Linked DNA regions of Homo sapiens: regions 2 and 3 are each linked to region 1. Evidence: promoter capture Hi-C in human tissues and cell types (Jung and others, 2019). All regions are on one chromosome and are shown on one strand. The core of a region is centred on a gene start or on the middle of the fragment in contact, and the rest is flanking DNA. Distances in the headings are between cores, read along the strand shown. Region 1 holds the start of PRRX1 (paired related homeobox 1). Region 2 has its middle 64 kb from the start of PRRX1. Region 3 overlaps PRRX1 (paired related homeobox 1).

Region 1 (4,469 bases), core at 980-3,479:
CCATTTACACACACTCGTACCCTTCTTTCTCTCCAGTCGAGCCTCTTGACTATAGGACGAAAAAAAAAAAAAGTCTAGCAATCAAGGGAGTGCGGGAGTACGGATGCGTGTGTGTGTGTGTGAGTGCGCGTTTAAAGAACATAAAACGCCACAAATAAGCACTTAATATTTTACTGAGTCGTCATACAGTAACTCATTTCTAATGAGACTGTTAAAGCTGTTACCAAATTCCAACAGGTCATGAAAAAACTGCTCAGCACCTCTCTGTCTTCTGTCAGGTTAGGGCTCCGCAGACGGACGACAGAGGATTATCCGTAGACTTAGATGGGGGTTCCTCCGCCCCTCTCTGTCCTCCTGCCACCACAGCCAGGCTGGACGCAGAACCGCACGGAAGCCTCCCCAACTCCTGCCTCTGGGAGTGCTCCTGCCTGCTTCAAGGAATCTGGGCAGCGGGACCCTCTGGGTTTAGCGTCCTCGCCTGGGGAAGCAACTTTGGCCTTACCGTAGAAGTTACAAAATTGGCGGGGGTAGGGAGAAAGATTATAATATATATTTGGAGTCCTTTCTTCCAGTTTAATAAACACGTACTTTTCTCATTGCCCTAGTCCTGGTATGCCTAATGGCGGGGAAAGCCTCAAATAAACTCGGTGCCCTCTGGATCTCCCCAACCTGCCTTTAGTCCTTGCGAGAGGCGTGAGAGAACTTCCTATTATCATCCCTTTTGTTATTTTTATTACATTATTTAATAGGCTCCCTCTACGGAACCAAAAATAGCCTTAATATGCTTACTTTCTCCCTGTACTCCGCCCCAAACTGTTAGAACAGCAGAAAATTTTTTTTTGGGGGGGGGCGGTTTGGGGGAAGGCAGAAGGAGAAGAAAATTTGATTGTGATGGTGGTGGATTTTTTCCAAATTTCCCCACAGCTGTTATCAAAACATGCAAATGAGATTTTCCAACAGGATCTTAAACAAATCTGGAGGAGTTAATGCCGAAGCAAAATAATCAGCACGTTTGAAGTGACTGTGAGTTTCAGTTTGTCTTTTCTCCCCGTGATATTATTGCAGGGGAATGATAATTAGACCTTTAGAAATCCAAAGGGGCTCTCTTGCTCTCTTCCCTCTCTCATTTCTCTTCTCTCTTTCTCTCTCTCTCTCTCTCCCTTCCTCCCTCCCTCCCTCCCTCTCTCCCTCCCTCTCTCTTGTTCCCTCCCTCTCCCTTTCTCTCTAACTCTGATGTTGGCAAAGGGGGTTTTCTTAATCAGACTGTTTTTTGGTCCCAGGGAAAGGAGGAAGAAGGAGATTGTGATGGAGAAAGGGGGTCTGTGAAACGTCAGGCACAGCACAAAGGCTTTGCCACGTAATTACAGGCTCCTATTAAGTCGAGATCTGCCCTCCCAGGGGTCTCCAATTTTCTTGTATTCCCTACAAAGCCTCCTCTGCATGCCAGTTTGTGCCTTTTGAAGTGCCAGAGAGCTTCTTGATCCAACTGAGAAGGAAAAAGGAGCCCAGCAAGAAGAGGGGGAGAGAGAGAAGGGGAAAGGGGGGAACCCACCAGCACCCTCCGTCGGACTCTTGAAGCCTTTTTTTTTTAATTCTTAATTTTTTTTTTTACTCTTTACAAAAAGTAAAGTGAGAATCCTGCTCTCTAATACATCTGCAAGACATCACCCTCTCCTCCTGAAACTTTAGTCACTCCTGAGAATCCACAGGAGTGCAGAGAGGGGGGAACACGTTTTCTTGAAGATGTTTTAAAGCTGGAACAAGCCTTCTTCTGTTGGTGCTTGAACTCTTGCCTGGGAATAACTTTTTTAACCTTTAAAAAAACCATTCACTTTGATTCTTCTCTCCCACCCCTTCTTCTCTCTTCTTCTGTTTGCCTAACTCCCCCGCCCTGCTGGCCTCCGCTTTCCTCTCTCCCCCTTGTTATTATTTTTAGTCTGTGCGTGTGGACACTTTTGGAGAGTTGGAAGGGATTTTTTTCTCCTGACTTGAACATAGGGTGACTTTTTAATATTGTATTTTACTGTGGATTATCTCTTTGGACCGCGCCGGACTTGGCCTCAGGAAATCAACCAATGCTGCGGAAGGCGGCTGGTGCACAACGCTCTGCTCTACAGAAGGGGGTCCCCCACCCTCTTTTCCAATTTTTTTTTTTTGGCCTTCCTCTCCTTCCCTCCCTCTTCCTCCCTCTCTCTCTCTCTCTCTCCACTACCCCCCTCTTTCTTCCCCACTCGGCTCCTCTCCCCCCTCGCGCCCACAGCGTTTGGTGTTGATTCGAGCGGGAAGAGGGGGGTGGGTGGGATCGGTGGGGGAGACCATGACCTCCAGCTACGGGCACGTTCTGGAGCGGCAACCGGCGCTGGGCGGCCGCTTGGACAGCCCGGGCAACCTCGACACCCTGCAGGCGAAAAAGAACTTCTCCGTCAGTCACCTGCTAGACCTGGAGGAAGCCGGGGACATGGTGGCGGCACAGGCGGATGAGAACGTGGGCGAGGCTGGCCGGAGCCTGCTGGAGTCGCCGGGACTCACCAGCGGCAGCGACACCCCGCAGCAGGACAGTGAGTGAGGGGCGCATGCCCACGGGGGTGTGTGCCCGGGACAGAGGGCGGGGACCCGTGTAGGGCAGCTAGAGCCCGTCCGCGGCCAGAAAGACAAGGTCCTGGGACCAGGAGAGGTGATGGCAGACTTCAAAGGAAGGGCCAGTCACAGGGGAAACCAGATGAGAAAAGCGGGTCTCGGCCGAGGGCATAGCCAAGGAGGACGCTGGAGAGAGGCTCCAAGGTCCGGGGACACTCCGAGGCCCTGCGGTCTCAGGCAGGGACTCTGTCCGCGGCGGACTCTCTTTACTTCGGCTAGGCACCGGCTCGGTTCATCCCGCACGCGGGGCGGCGGGGCTGGGCTGGGAAAAGGTCTTAGCGGGGTGCAAACTCAGAGAGCCAGCGCTGTTTGGGAAAGCAGCAGGTTAAAGATGCTGAGTCGGGTTGGAAGGGCTTCTCTCGGGCAGCGTATGACGGCTTGAGGGAGGGCACCAGGCACAGGGAGCAGGACTTGGCGCTGCTCAGGCTGCACTCTCCACGCGGGCACCGTAAGGCCGGGCGCGACCGGGAGGCCCCGAGAGAACGCCCGGCCCCAGACGCTGGAGCTGCTCTCTGCCCCCTGCTGTTGCCTCTACCGCAAATGGGTTTGAGACTGGCAGAGTCAAAAGCCCGGCTGGCTTGGGAAAACTCGGGCCAAGCAAAGGGAATGTCCTTTAAGGGTGAAACCTGAAATCCAGCCCCGCATGATCCCGCACAGGCGAGCTGCATCCGGGAGGCGCGAGCTTCAGTGCGGAGGCCAGTGTCACCTTAGAGGAGCTCTCCCTATTGGCTCTTAAACGCCCAGAAAAGTCCAGTTTCCCTTCCCCATCCTCACCGACCAACCTCGCGACCCATGAAAATCTCGCTTCGCTAGTGCCTTAAAAAGAGACTGCAATTGTATCCCCATGCCCCCAAGTCTGTAACAGACCGGTCACCCTGTTCATCCCAGGTGACATGTGGCCAGATATGTACAGATACTCCCTCTTCTCCTCGAGGTTGCAAGAGTCTGAACTTAGCTGTAAGTTCTCAAATGAGGCTGGTTGCTTTCTATGTCAGTAGTTGCTGGTTACCATTTTTGTCTTCAAATTTGGAAATCGTGGAACCGGGGGGCCCTCCAGCATTCTATGATTTTCACAAAACGTTGCCTATTTCAGACTCTCAAAGAATAGACATACAAATCAAACTGCACATAGAAACAATTGGAAACAGGGTCCGGGCACAGTGGTGGCCCCGCGGGCCACGCTACAGCAAGCCGCAGAGAGAGCCTCTGGTGTGCTCAAGACGCCTGGTCTTCACCCTGCTTCCTTAGTTCCGGCCTGGGCGCCCCTGGGTGTTTTTAGCCAAAAGCGGCCTAGGGCCGATCCACCCAATGCATTAGCAGACTGCTACAGGAACTGAATGAGGAAGTCTGGCCTGGACACCAGAGAAAGGTGGCCAACTCTGAGGAATGAAGAACCAGGTGTCCTCAAGTTCCGCATAAAGGGCTAGGCGCAGAGACAGAGACGTTCTCTTTAGGGTTTGGGTGCTTGAGAGGCTGCACCCGCAGCATTACTTAAGTGTTTGCATAGGCACTCTTAGTTCTAACAAAATGCACTGAGAAATACTATGATTGTTTTTAAACGTTTTACCAGGGAAAATGAAAAACGAAAAATGTAGGGAGAGTCCAGGCGCGGTGGCTCACGCCTGTAATCCTAGCACTTTGGGAGGCCGAGGCGGGCAGATCACGAGGTCAGGAGTTCGAGACCAGCCTAACCAACGTGGTGAAACCCCTCTCTCCTAAAAATACAAAAATTAGCCGGGCGTAGTGCCGAGCGCCTGTAATCCCGGTTACTCAGCAGGCTGAGGCAGGAGAATCGCTTAAACCCGGGAAGCAGAGGTTGCAGTGAGCCCAGA
Region 2 (4,469 bases), core at 1,473-3,972, 63 kb before region 1:
GGCCTCCTAAATGCAGGTACACATTGTCAGGGTCAGCCAGGAGCACATAAATAATTTGGCCCCTCTCCAGTCTTCACGGCACATGTGTAAAGCTAGGAAAAATATTGTGCCAATTATGACTGAAATCTCAAGCCTGTGGAGCCAAGTTATTGGCCCTCCCCTACTGTCCCACATCCCTGAAGTCACTTATTCTGACAATGCCATTGGGGTAGGTACCACCCACTTCTCCAGGCTGCCAGAAAGAGTGCTAGTTCCATGGCTTGCCCATCCCTGGCAGAGCCTTCATGCTCACTGAGCTGGGGGAACAGGATAGGAGGAGCCCCACGCCAGAGTGCTATGAATTCCCACTTTCTTTACCTGAAATTCAGCTTTTTCAAGACTGAACACTTCTCAGATTGTTATATGCCTTTGGCCAATTTCCATAAACCAAAATGGTTGTTTTTGTCAATTTTCTCCAGCTTAGGTTGCTTCTCTCAGAGAGGATTTGTCACTCTCCTCACTTGGCCGTAACTAGAAGTCAATCATATTTACTTTACAAAAAGTCTTAACATTTATTCACATAATTTCCATTATTGATGCTCTTCATCCCTTTATTTAGATCCAGATTTCCATCTGGACTAGTTTCTTGTAATGTGGGTCTGATGGTGATAAATTCTTTCAGATTTTGTGTCTGAAAATGTCTTTATTTCACTTTTGATTTTGAAAGATATTTTGACTGAATAAAGAATTCTGTGTTTGACAGGTTTATTTTTTCCTTTCAGTACAGTCATGCACTGCATAACAATGTTTCAGTCAACAACAGACTGCATATAAGATGGTGGTCCCATAGATTATAATGAAGCTGAAAAACTATCATCTAGTGATGATGTCATAGTGAAACACATTACTCGTGTTTGTGGTGCTGCTGGTGTAAGCAAATCTGCTTTATAAACTTTATAAAGTAAAAAGATTATAGAAAGCTAAGGCTAATTTATTATTGAAGAAAGATAAGTATTTTAAAATACTCACCCAGAGAAACTTCCAGTCCTGCAAGCTTCATTTATGGTAAGTGCTCTCTACAGATGTGCTATTTTAAAAATCTTTTCTCCTGTATTTTTACTGTATCTTTATCTTTTCTCAGTTTGAATATGTTTAGATGCACAAATACTTATCATTGCATTACAGTTGTCTATGGTGTTCAGTACAGTAACATACTGCACAGGTTTGTAGTCTAGGAGCAGTAAGTTATGCCATATAGCCTATGTGTGTAATAGACTATACCATCTAGGTTTGTATAAGTGCACTCTGTGATGTTCACACAATGACAAAACCCCCTAAAAATGCATTTCTCAGATTGTGTCACCATTGTTGAATGATGCATTATTGTAATTTAAAGATGTTGCTCCACTGCCTTTTCACTTTCATTACTTTGATGAAAATGTACTATCATCCTTATGGTTGTTCCTTTGTAGGTAATATGCCTTCTTTGGCTGCTTTAAGATTTTTTTCTATTATTATTTTGAAGAAATTTAAGTATGATAGTTCTTGGTGTAATTTTCTTCATTTGTTTAGCTTTTTGGATCTGTAAGCTTATAGTTTTCATTCAATTTGGAACTGTTTTGGTCATTATTTTGGCATCACAGTGTCCCTCCATATCTGCTGGTTCTACATCTAAGTGTTCAATCAACTGAAGATAAAAAGAACAATAAAAATAATAATACAACAATAAAAAAGAATACAAATGAAAAACAATACAGTATAACAACTATTTGCATAGTATTTACATTGTATTATATTATATATCTAATATATATTGTATTATATTAGTTAATATAATGTAAATTACTTATAATATGGAGATGACTTAAGTGTATGGGAGAATGTGCATAGGTTATATGCAAATACTATGACATTTTATATAAGATACTTGAGAATTCTTAGATTTTTGGTATCTTAGTAGGGATTTCTGAATAGAGAAATCTCCTCGGATACAGAGGGATGACTGTATTCCTTCAGTTTTTTTCTGTCCTCCCTGCCCTTAATACTTTGGGGACTGGAATTATGTGTATATTAGCCTGCTTGAAGTTGTTACACAATTCATTAAAGCTCTGTTTGTCTTTTTTGTTTTAGTATTTTATTTTTCTCTGTGATTTATTTTGGATAGTTTCTATTGCTGTATCTTTAAGTTCACTACCAATCTTTTCCTCTGCAATGTTTAATCTGCCATTAATCCTGTCCATTGTATTTTTCATTTGGGTCATTGTTTTCATCTTTAGAAGTTTAATTTGGTTCTCTTTTATATCTTTCATGTTTCTAATTAACATGTTTAATTTTTCTTCTAGCTTTTTAAACATCTGGAATTCTGTTATAATTGTGTTAATGACCTTGTCTACTAACGCTATTATCTGTGTCATTTATGTGTTAGTTTTGACTAATTGGGTTTTTCAAATACCATATTATCAATCATATGAGTTGCAAGACTGATAATATTTTTTATTGGATGCCAGATATTATGAATTTTACCTCTCTCAGAGCTGAGATTTTTTATTCCTATAAATATTTTTGAGTCTTATTTTAGGACATTGTTAAATTATTTAGAAACAGTTTAACCCTTGAGCTTTATTTTAGGACATTGTTAAATTATTATTATTATTGTTATTGTTATTTTCAAGATAGGGTCTTACTCTGTCACCCAGGCTGGAGTGCAGTGGAGTGATCTTGGCTCACTTCAACCTCCACCTCCTGGGTTCAACTGATTCTCTGCCTCAGCCTCCTGAGTAGCTGGGACTACAGGTGCATGCCACCACTCCTGCCTAATTTTTGTATTTTTAGTAGAGATGGGTGTATTAGTCCGTTTTACACTGCTGATAAAGACATACCAGAGACTTGGCAATTTACAAAAGAAAGAAATTTAATGGACTTTCAGTTCCATGTGGCTGGGGAAGCCTCACACTCATGGTGGGAGGTGAAAAGCCCTGTCTCACACAGCAGCAGATAAGAGAAGTGTTGTGCAGGGAAATTCTCATTTTCAAAATCATTAGATCTCATGAGACTCATTCACCATCACAAGAACAGCACAGGAAAGACCCTCCCCCATAATTCAATCACCTCCCACTGGGTTCCTCTCACGACATGTAGGAATTGTGGGAGTTACAATTCAAGATGAGATTAGGGACACAGTCAAACCATATTGTTTCATCCCTGACCCCTCCCAAATCTCACGTCCTCACATTTCAAAACCAATCATACTTCCCCAACAGTCCCCCAAAGTCTTAACCCAAATTCCACAGTCCAAAGTCTCATCTGAAATAAGGCAAGTCCCTTCCGCCTATGAGCCTGTAAAATCAAAAGCAAGCTAATTACTTCCTAGATACAATGGGGGTACATTGGTTTTGGGTAAATACAGGTATTACAGGTATTGGGTAAATACAGCCATTCCAAATGGGGGAAATTGGCCAAAACAAAGGGGTTACAGGGCCTATGCAAGTCTGAAATCCAGCGGGGCAGTCAAATTTTAAAGCTCCAAAATGATTTCCTTTGACTCCAGGTCTCACATCCAGGTCATGCTGATGCAAGAGGTGGGTTCCCATGGTCTTGGGCAGCTCTGCCTCTGTGGCTTTGCAGGGTACCGCCTCCCTCATAGCTGCTTTCAGGGGCTGGCATTGAGTGCTTGTGGCTTTTCCAGGTGCATGGTGCAAGCTGTCAGTGGATCTACCATTCTGGGGTCTGGAGGATGGTGGCCTTCTTCTCACAGCTCCACTGGGTGGTACTCCAGTAGGGACTGTGCTTGGGGGTTCCAACCCCACATTTCCCTTCTGTGCTGCCCTAGCAGAGGTTCTCCATGAGGAACCTGCTCCTGCAGCAAGCTTCTGCCTGGTCATCCAGGTGTTTCCATACATCTTCTGAACTCTATGAAAAGGTTACCAAACCCCAGTTCTTGACTTGTGTGTACTCACAGGCTCAACACCACATGGAAGCTGCCATGGTTTGGGGCTTGCACCCTCTGAAGCCACAGCCAGAGCTCTATGTTGGACCCTTCAGCCATAGCTGGAGCAGCTTAGATGCAGGACACCAAGTCCCTAGGCTGCACACAGCATGGGGACCCTGGGTCCAACCTGTGAAACCATTTTTTCCTCCTAGGCCTCTGGGCCTGTGTTGGGAGGGGCTGCCATGAAGGTCTCTGACATGGCCTGGAGACATTTCACCATTGTCTTGGGGATTAACATTCGGCTCCTTATTACTTATGCAAATTTCTGCAACTGGCTTGAATTTCTTCTTAGAAAATGCTATTTTATTTTCTATGGCATTGTCAGGCTGCAAATTTTCTGAACTTTTATGGTCTGTTTCCCTTATAAAACTGAATGCCTTTAACAGCACACGAGTAACCTCTTGAATGCATTGCTGCTTAGAAATTTCTTCCACCAGGTACCCCAAATCATCCCGCTCAAGTCCAAAGTCCCACAAATCTCTAGGGAAGGGACAAAATGCCA
Region 3 (4,469 bases), core at 1,249-3,748, 54 kb after region 1:
TTGTGGGACTGCTTCTATACCATGACATTACTATAACTCTTTCAACTTTTACTGTAATGTAATATGTCAAGGAATCCTATCTCTTTTCTATAGAAATACCTGAATACATTAAGGTGACAAAATATTTACAGAGAAAATATTGAACCATAATTTTTAAAAAGTATTTGATAATATACTAATATATGTATATAAATTTAGAGCCTGAGAAATCAATATGAATTGGTGCTATCAGAAAAGGTTTATAGAGAAGGTAAGATTTGAGATGTGTTTTAGGAACAGAGAGATTTTAAACTGTGTCCTAAAGTGAAAATCATCTCCTATGATTGTGGGAGAAGATAGAAGATGGGGCATACTACTAAGCTAAAATAACCCTGCACTTATTTAATTGATGAAGCAAGGACTTATGGATATCATTGTAAAGAAGAATGCAAGAACATCTGGATCAAAATGGCTTTCTAGATGAGAATGGTTGCATTTTTTAATGGCTATTCTGGTAGAAAGGACAACATGTGATATTCATCGACCCTCTTTCTCAGACCCTCTTTATAACAGCTAGTATGGAAAAATCTGTCTTTCCTATAAATATTTTCCCTGGGGAATGGTTTCCATTTATGTGTTGGATGCTTTGTTGTTTCTCTCTTGCACAGCGTGTATGTTGTCATCTGCACTTAAGAGTGGAATGGAATTGGGAATCCTGGTTTCTTGCTCTGGCTGGAGGTCCCAAGTCCGCATTGTGATTTTGGGCAAGTCACGTTGTTCTTCTAGATCTAATTTAACTCATCTGTAAAATAAGATGGTTGAATTCGACAATTTCATGGGTTTCATTAGATGCCAATATTTTATGACTCATGATCCCAGCAAGACTACACCTATTTATAAGGCTGTTTTGCTTGTTTTTACTAAGAGCAACAATAACTACATATTTTCAGTTTACTCAATCATCAAAAAAATTATAAAATCCATAAACACTTTGGATTTGAAACATTGCAACTTTGATAAAAAATGTATCCATGTAGGCCAGGAGCAGTGGCTCACGCCTGTAATCCCAGCACTTTGGGAGGCCGAGGCAGGTGGATCACGAGGTCAGGAGATCGAGACCATCCCGGCTAACACGGTGAAACCTCGTTTCTACTAAAAATACAAAAAATTAGCTGGGCGTGGTGGCAGGTGCCTGTAGTCCCAGCTACTCGGGAGGCTGAGGCAGGAGAATGGTGTGAACCCAGGAGGCGGAGGTTGCGGTGAGCCAAGATCGCGCCACTGCACTCCAGCCTGGGCGACAGAGCGAGACTCCATCTCAAAAAAAAAAAAAAAAATGTATTCATGTTTCCGCTGGTTATTCTACAACTTGGTGAATCCTTCCCATTTTAGAATGCCAAAGAATGAGATGCATTCTAATATCCAGTTGGATGTCAGTATCTTCAGACAGCATGTTTCAAAATCAACTTTCACTGTAGTTGTTTTTGCAAGAAAAGATGACCCTCTTGGAATTAGTAAAAATACACTGCTTTCTCTCCCCTGTATTCAACCAGAGCCAAGAATCTGATAAATGTGTTTATCACAGGTCCTTCAGATACCCTGCATTTGTAAACCTCTACAGTGTTTATGTTTCCTTTTGTACTGCTGAAGATACTGTGCTGGGTCCTGTTCTGCATTCTTGGGGAAAAACAGGGAGCTCACATTTTGTGATTAGTGAGCAAAGACAGACCATCCCCAGGACTGCTGCTCGAGCTGTCTCTGTTGCCCGCTCATCGTCTCTTTCTATTATACTTGCACTCTGAAGGACATTTGCCAGAGCCAGACTCCCTGGATCCCTGTTATTTGTGTCTTTTCTCACCTTCAACATGATCTGAACTAGTGTTTTCATTTGTTAAAAACAACAAGAACATTCACTGGGAAACTTTTGCTGGAATTGCTTCAGGTCATCATAGCTATTTATTCCCTGTCATAAACTATAATTCTCCATTTCCCTTACTCCCACATCAGGGGAGTTGGTGGTTTATGGTAGACAGTCAGTGGAATTTGATTGAACAGTGGAATATTTCAAAGAACTACTGAGATTATGTAGCAGGTTGTAATACTAAGAACAAAACATAAAATATTCTTGGTCTTGATTGCAGTTGGCAGTACAAGAAGAAATAGGCTTTTGAAACAACATAAAAGATTTATAATTTGTGGTTGCACCTAAGAAAGAATTTTCTTTGAGAGAAGAAAACAAGTCATGGGATTGGCTTAATAGGGGATTTTCTCTATATGATTAAAAATAATGGCTTAGTGTCTAATTGGTCTCAGTTAAAACAAAGTACAGAAGCTAAGGATTTTTCTTTTTTTTTTTTGCAGACTTCTGTTTTGGGGGCATGAAATTCAGATAATTGTGCTATCACAAGGGCTTGTATTACTTAGAAAGACCTGAAGTACGAGACAAAATGATTTGGAAAAATGAATAGGAATGGGAGGAATGCTTCCAAATATTAAATAGGAAGGAGAATGCAAGTGCAATGTAACTACTGAAAGGTATTTAATCCTAGGTGTTTGAATTCTAGTGCTGATCTTATTGCAAACTAATTTTGCTAATAGCTAGTGGTATAATCAGTGATGTTGGTTGGAATATTTTAGGCATTGGTAGATCTCAAAAATTATTATTAAATTTGCTCCATTTCCAAGATGCAGCTGATCTTACATTCTTACTGAGTGTCACAGAAGTGCCACCAAAGCTGGGCCCTGAGGTAAGGCACCACAAGTGTAAAATACCAAAGAGAAGGTGGACTGTACAAAACCATGAAGCAGAGAGAAAGGTATGGTAGCTTCTTGGCTGGAGGAATCTGGTTGAGATCATCTGACATTTTTTTCTACAGAAACAGTCTTCTAAGGACAAGAGGAGTTTCACGTTTTCCCTGAAAACAAACTCAGCAAGCATTTACTATATCTGGGTGCTTTAATTATCAAGAAGAAATGTGCAGTCTCTATTCTAAGCTTCAAGGGTATTCCTGGTAAGGAAGCATTGATGAAGAAGGATTCTCTTAGCAAAAGACTTAGAGGCCTCAGTTGTCAGGCCTCTGGATTTAAGCTACATTTTGACTCTGTACACAAATCTAGATCATTCCCTCAATTTGTAATAAAAACAATATTATAGCTGAGGTAGGTGTCATCATGACTTGTGCTAATAGTTTTGCTGAGTACATTGTGTGTTTATAATCAGAGAGAATCAGGAGAATTTGCATATTAGAAGAGAGAGCCAAAAGTACTTTCTAAATAGTGAATGGCCAAGCTCTCCTTGTTCTCCCCATCCTCACTCCAACACTTCATAATTTTCTTTGGGCTGAGCCTCTTTGGGGAAAAGCTATGGGGAATGTAAGTCAAGTTCATTAGATGGAGCATGTGACTTGGGTTTTGGCAGCATGGTGTTGCAAATCTCTGGGACCTACACAGGCTCTGCAGAGCTCAGGCCTTAGGGTGATAGTTTGATTGAGGTGTCAGCACAGCTGGTATTCCATTCAGTTTCACATATACATCACTCCTGACTGGGCTGGGTGGGGGCAGCAGGAGAGGAGCATACTACACTCTGACTGCTATGGACAACCTGGACAATTATCTCACCACGCTACCTTCAGGGGAACTCAGAGAAAACCAAGGAAGGATCTTGACAGGTAAAAATGGAGTTGTGATTCTTCAAAGGTCCCTAAGATCTCAGGGTCCTAGAACTCAAGTTTGAGTGAAACATTTTCAGGGATCTTTCTGAACTGTTTCCTGTTCTTGGGTTCTCAGGGAGTGAGCCCCAGGCTAATGTTAGCTTGGGTTGATGGCATTGTAGCACTAGTCCTGATCTAGGCTGAGGCCTCTGAAGCCTGCCTTTGCAACAGCATGGAGCCTTGAGTGAATGGTGTTAGAAATTACTTGCTGCTTCAAGGAGAGTTCATGGTAAAACAAATCCCTGTAATGTGGTTTGAACATAGTTTCCTCTCTATAACTCTATGTATTTGTTCATGTATATATGTTAGGAGAGAAGGAACCAGGAGATAATTGGTCTACTTGATTATTAAACTATATGAGTGAGCATAATATTGTCAAAGACAAATAAGGTACAAAACCATTTACTCTTCTTCCTTTATCTCTAGAGAAGTCCAAAGAACATGGGCAGGGGTAAGATTTTCCTTGACAAACAGGCATCAAGGATCATGCAAGTAATGTCTCTCTGACAGTTCAGATCTTGTCCCAGATTTAGAGGCAACAGCCAAGCATTAGAGTTGCTGGGATTCTTGACATATGAACTTGAGAGCGCTAATGGCCACATTTGCACATGCAAAGTGGCATTTGGCTATAGGACTTTGATAAAGATGTGAGCAAATGAAGCAAGATCTCACTATAGATATACCATAAAAAAGTCTTAACTGGGACTCCTACAGTGAATTTGGCTTCTTTTCATCATTGTGTTCTATTCCAGATGACCAGCTGAACTCAGAAGAAAAAAAGAA

Evidence for each region. The method cuts DNA at HindIII sites, captures the fragments that hold promoters and counts their contacts. A contact is called where the count stands out against the background at its distance.
Region 2: a fragment that was not itself captured here is called in contact with the fragment with the promoter of PRRX1 in region 1 in 1 of the 25 tissues and cell types used here (adrenal gland).
Region 3: a contact is called between a fragment that was not itself captured here and the fragment with the promoter of PRRX1 in region 1, in 2 of the 25 tissues and cell types used here (bladder and spleen).

The regions. Positions count from the first base shown.
Region 1 is chr1:170,661,902-170,666,370 of GRCh38, forward strand. It overlaps PRRX1 (paired related homeobox 1), which reads left to right and starts at 2,230. Exons shown (of 4, transcript NM_022716.4): 1 at 2,230-2,558. The coding sequence starts at 2,318. RefSeq lists enhancers at 1,135-1,662, 2,863-3,723. The HindIII fragment of the contact is 17,405 bases long and covers 1-4,469 here.
Region 2 is chr1:170,597,972-170,602,440 of GRCh38, forward strand. No RefSeq gene overlaps it. Among named protein-coding and RNA genes, the nearest start is that of PRRX1, 64 kb to the right of the region's middle. The HindIII fragment of the contact is 5,037 bases long and covers 205-4,469 here.
Region 3 is chr1:170,715,288-170,719,756 of GRCh38, forward strand. PRRX1 (paired related homeobox 1) reads left to right here. Exons shown (of 4, transcript NM_022716.4): 2 at 4,439-4,469. Among named protein-coding and RNA genes, the nearest start is that of PRRX1, 53 kb to the left of the region's middle. The HindIII fragment of the contact is 8,530 bases long and covers 1-4,469 here.